2 separate regions of the Homo sapiens genome follow, and region 1 is linked to region 2. The links are contacts of gene promoters, found by promoter capture Hi-C in blood cells and fetal thymus (Javierre and others, 2016). All regions are on one chromosome and are shown on one strand. Each heading gives the region's core, a stretch centred on a gene start or on the middle of the fragment in contact. The rest is flanking DNA. Distances are from core to core; before and after follow the strand shown.

What was found. Contacts are between HindIII fragments. The CHiCAGO score rates a contact against its expected background, and 5 or more counts as called.
Region 1: a fragment that was not itself captured here is called in contact with the fragment with the promoter of RNASE11 in region 2 in 15 of 17 cell types (neutrophils, M2 macrophages, naive B cells and 12 more); the score reaches 7.8 in neutrophils.

Annotation. Positions count from the first base shown.
Region 1 is chr14:20,324,277-20,326,976 of GRCh38, reverse strand. It overlaps CCNB1IP1 (cyclin B1 interacting protein 1), which reads left to right. Exons shown (of 7, transcript NM_021178.5): 3 at 184-261; 4 at 1,324-1,438. It overlaps SNORD126 (small nucleolar RNA, C/D box 126), which reads left to right and starts at 438; the gene lies at 438-536. The HindIII fragment of the contact is 275 bases long and covers 1,192-1,466 here.
Region 2 is chr14:20,586,629-20,589,328 of GRCh38, reverse strand. RNASE11 (ribonuclease A family member 11 (inactive)) reads left to right here and starts at 1,328. Exons shown (of 3, transcript NM_001394190.1): 1 at 1,328-1,469; 2 at 1,704-1,766. It overlaps RNASE11-AS1 (RNASE11 and RNASE12 antisense RNA 1), which reads right to left and starts at 1,105. Exons shown (of 5, transcript NR_122043.1): 1 at 1,011-1,105. The HindIII fragment of the contact is 10,143 bases long and covers 1-2,700 here.

The DNA of each region.
Region 1 (2,700 bases), core at 80-2,579, 260 kb after region 2:
CTTGGGCATTTGGTGACATTCTCCAAATAGATGAGTCAATAATTTATATTAATGAATGGAGAGTTAAATAAAGGATGAACGGTTACTCTAAATTTTCTTGTGACTTGGTATAGAACATGCTGGTGTGAGTTGTCATGTAATCATAACCTTTGTGAATTTATTTATGTTTTTTAAATTTTCCAGAAATGATCCTAGATAATTGATAGATCCTGTGGTTCAACTGGATTTCTAGATAGAAGCTGGATTCATGTGATGCCAGAGGTAAGAGTAAGAGCAAAATCTTCGTTTTTACCTCATTTGGATTTCTAATCACTTAGCAAGACTTGGGACTCGGTGTTATTAGTGGATGGAATTTGGTAATTAAAAAAAATCCCCAGTTCTAACCTTAGGAGAATTTTCCTGTTTAGGGATGAGGAGCCAGTGCTGGTTTGCCCTTCCTCAGTCATTTACAGTTTGCCATGATGAAATGCATGTTAAGTCCGTGTTTCAGCTGATCAGCCTGATTAAACACATGCTCTGAGCAGACTAAAGCTAGGGGCAAACACCTGCAATTGAATTCTGCTTGTTGGAATTCATACTGGGATTTAGTCTGTAATCCCAGGTAATTCTTAAATCTTAATAAATTATGAATTTGAGACTAATGTTTTGTTGTGCTTTGATCTTTTGTGATATCTCTATATCCCCAAAAAATCACTTTTGTGAGTTAGAACTAGGGTCAGGAATCATTAATCTAAAAGTTCAAACACTACAGAAAAAGCACTGGCAACTGGTATAATTCTATAGGCAATTTAGCCTGGCAGTTTTAAACTAATCATTATTTTATCAATCTATACATGTAGATTAAAGGAAACACAGAGTTGGTTAAATCAATTTTGTGAAGACTATACGGTACAACACTATAGAATCACTTAAAAGTTATGATACAGTTTTATGTTTATTGAAATAGAACGGTATTCATGACACATGAAAAACAGATTATATAGAGCAATATGTTTCTGCTTAAATATTTTTATATGCATATGTTTGCTTAAGAAAACTGAAAGGACATATATACTAAAATACTAGGGGGTTATTTTCTCTAGAATTGGGTTCTACAAGTAATCTTTTATTATTATAAACCTATTTTCTAATTTTATTGTATTCATGTATTGTAATATTTTAAAAGTTATTTTAGGTAACTTAGGACAAGCTTATATTCTTTACCCGTGCCTGCATTTTCAGCAGAGAATTAGGTAGAAAGAAGGGTGAAATACAGGAAATACAAACAACTCAAAGTAACATCAGGACTTGAAATAATTTTTTAGCTTTTGTTGTCTTTTGCAGGAGTAAAATTTCAAGAGACTGAAACCAGATCTGAGTTTCGCTGTTCCAGTCTGGACCTCTTTGGTGCTGTAAATCCTGGATATACTGTAGATGAGTACTGCGTTTTTCTTTTATGGTAAGGCTTACGTTGAGATTGAGAAGCTTTGCCATATATATGAGTCTTTGAAAATTCAGGTTTGTGACTTCATGGCCAGCTGCTAAGGTGCTATAAATTTCACTTTTTTTTTTTTTTTGAGACGGAGTCTTGCTCTGTCGCCCAGGCTGGAGTGCAGTGGCGGGATCTCGGCTCACTGCAAGCTCCGCCTCCCGGGTTCACGCCATTCTCCTGCCTCAGCCTCCCAAGTAGCTGGGACTACAGTTGCCCGCCACTACGCCCGGCTAATTTTTTGTATTTTTAGTAGAGACGGGGTTTCACCGTTTTAGCCGGGATGGTCTCGATCTCCTGACCTCGTGATCCGCCCGCCTCGGCCTCCCAAAGTGCTGGGATTACAGGCGTGAGCCACCGCGCCCGGCTAAATTTCACTTTTTAAAAGTCAGTTGAGGCCAGGCGTGGTGGCTCACACCTGTAATCCTAGCACTTTGGGAGGCCGAGGTGGGTGGATTGTCTGAGCTCAGGAGTTTGAGACCAGACTGGCCAACATGGCAAAACCCCATCTCTACTAAAAAAATACAAAAAATTATCTGGGCCTGGTGGTGTGCGCCTGTAGTCCCAGCTACTCAGGAGGCTGAGGCTTGAACCCAGGAGGTGGAAGTTTTAGTAAGCAGAGAGAGCGCAACTATACTCCAGCCTGGGTGATAGGGAGATTCCGTCTCCAAAAAAAAGAGTCAATTAAAGATGTTGAGAAGTAGCATTGTATAGTATATATATGGGTTCTGGAGTCAGACTGAGTTCAAACGCATGCTCTATCACTTCACCAGTTATGCAGCATTGGCAAGTTTCCTAATATCTATGTCTTAGTTTTATATTTTAGAGGATGGCAATAGTATTTGACTCAGGGTGGTTATTTTGAAGATTAAATTAGTAAGGGTGTGGGTAAAGCATACGGTAAATGCTCAGTTTGATGTTAACTATTTGTCATCAGAATCCATGCGTATATTTCTCTTAGATTCTGTACTACCTGGCAATTTTTGACATCTGCATAATAGATTGACGAAAATTCTTTGTTTTGGCCTGACGTGGTGGCTCATGCCTGTAAACCCAGCACTTTGGGAGGCGAGGTGGGCAGATCACCTAAGGTCAGGAGTTCAAGACCAGCCTGGCTAACATGGTGAAACCTCGTTTCTACCAAAAATACAAAAATTAGCTGGGTGTGGTGGCGTGCACCTGTAATCCCAGCTACTTGGGAGGCTGAGGCAGGAGAATCGCTTGAATCTGGG
Region 2 (2,700 bases), core at 79-2,578:
GAGCCGAGATCGCGCCACTGCACTCCAGCCGGGGCGGCAGAGTGAGACTCCGTCTCAAAAAAAAAAAAAAAGAAATCTTGGATGCTCAAAATATCTATCACAAAATTTTGAAGATCCAATCTGACAAGGCTAGGATCAGGGTAAGATGAGTTATGTGAGAAACGTAGTGCAGGGCCAGATCCTGGTATTTAAAATTTTAACATTTGTTCATCAGGGATTATTTTGCATTAAATTTATTTTCTGGCCAGGCGTGGTGGCTCATGCCTGTAATCCCAGCACTTTGGGAGGCTGAGGCAGGTGGAACACTTGAGGTCAGGAGTTTGAGATCAGCCTGGCCAACATGGTGAAACCTCCTCTCCACTAAAAATACAAAAGTTAGTTGGGTGTGGTGGTGCACGCCTGTAATCCCAGCTGCTTGGGAAGCTGACACAGGAGGAGCGCTTGAACCTGGGAGGTGGAGGTTGCAGTGAGCCGAGATCATGCCATTGCACTCCAGCCTGGGCAACAGAGCAAGACTCTGTCTCAAAAATAAATAAATAAATATTTTCTAAAATTGTTGCATTAAAATATTATTTATCTTGATTATTGAGTTTTGTGGCACTCTCTTAAATTTTGGTCTTAGAGTGAGTGTCTCATTAACCTCAGCCTAATCCTAGCTCTGCTTCTAGCTGTAGAAGCAACAGAGGTCACCTCTTAGGGTCTTTTTTAAAGATAGCATATACAACTCAGGCAGCATCTGTTCCTGTTCAGCAGCTCCCTTTGTGTCTTGAAATAAAGAAAGGAGCCTGACTGGTCTGAAACCATTTCCCTTAAAGACTTTAGAGAGACACAGATAAGGATTTCCCAGGGAGGGATTGAGACTTTCAGAGCTCAGTGACCTCCTCTTTGTGTCTCCAGAAGGAACAGAGAGGACTTTGAGCCGGACTACTAACTCTTTTCTCTTTTTAGTTCTTACAATTGGACTTACTGCTTAGTTTCCCCACATTCAGCTATGGGCATAGTATCCTTACAGCTAGAAGGAGAAGGACGAGAAAGAGAGATTTCTAATTCTGGGGATTTCATGAAGTCCTCTTCTTCTCTATTCATTAGTTTCCTTGTCTGTAAAGTGAGGATCTTGAATTAGATAATCTTTCAAGTTCTTTCCAAGTCTATTAGTCTATAATTCTATTTCTTAAGTAGTACAGAAAATGGCTATATTATAGCCATTGTTGGAGGGGAGAATTTGTATTGTGAGGTAGTAAGAAATAAGGGGCAATTGGCAAATAAAGGCCAGATTATGTTGTCACTAATTCTGAGCTATGGCATTTCAATCCTGTATGTGAGAGCTAGAGACTCATACAGTGACCTAGAGCAGGCATGGGTGGGTCACAGGCTTTGGAGAGCACTCTCTGTCCTGATCTTTTCAGTTGAGAGACTTCAGCTGTTCATTGCTCATTTGGACTTAGTTCAAGGTCATGTCAAAGAAGAAGGTGCACTTACGCTAGTTGTTAGCTCTGTCTTTTGTAACCATCAAGTTCCATGCGATTGATCAGATTTAGGAGGGGGCGTTGGGGGATAATCGTAAGTGAAGGACAGTTTGCAACCTTGTGAGTAGGCAACGCTTACTCATCTCATGGCTTCTTCCATCTTAGGTGGCCGTTTTTCAGCTGAGTTTCATTTTCTAGTTCTCTGTGGTAATTCTGTTGTCATTGTTGTCTCCATAGAATTTTGGGTGTCACCAGGTAAACAGAGCCCTCAGCATCTGAATAGAAACTGAACAGGAACAGGTAGGTGGTCCCTAGCACATGATTTGTTGGGCCTTGGTAGCATCATTTTTTGGGCAAAACTTTGAAGTGGATGAAATGCATCCTTTAGGTTCCTACATCTATTTTCTGAATTCTGATTCCTTTTTCTATCCCTCTCCCTAGGTTTTGTTGTCTTTTCTTTCCTTTTCAGTGCTTTTTCTCCCCTTCTTCACCGAAGCTCCTCCTTTCTAATTAAAAATATCTTGCAGATAAAAGTATAACTGAGATGAACCAATAGGATGTATCCTCAGAGTAATTTCATTCAATAGGGATCAACACCAAATTCAAATGAATTGTGACATTTTAGACATTCGTAGTTTGGGTGTGTGTGTATCTATATCTATCTATCTGTATCTAAATATGTATATACATATATATTATACAGATATATAGGATCAGAGTCTCATTCTGTTGCCCAGGATGGAGTGCAGTTGTGTGATCACAGCTCACTGCAGTCTCAGACTTTTGGGCTCAAGAAATCCTCTCCTCTCAGCCTCCCGAGTGGCTGGGACTATAGGCATATGCCACCACAACTGGCTTTTTGTTGTTGTTGTTGTTGTAGAGATGGATTCTCACTATGTTGCCTAGGCTGGTCTTGAACTTCTGGCCTCAAGTGATCCTCCCGCATTGGCCTCCCAAAGCAATGAGACCACAGGCATGAGTGACTGTGCCCAGCCAGGTATATTTTTTTAAAGGGCACCTCTTAGCAGTTTCAAATAAAACCTAGGCAGCTGTGAATGCTGCCCACTTGAAATATATGTCTCAGAAAGACTGGAAATTTCTGCCCTGCTCTTCTTCCTGTTTATCTTTCTCCTCCTGGTCTTTCTGTTTCCCTATTGTCACCTCACTACTGATGTCAATGGTATAGGATATAGAAGTTTAGGAAACAAAATAAATTCCCTATAAATCCCTCATC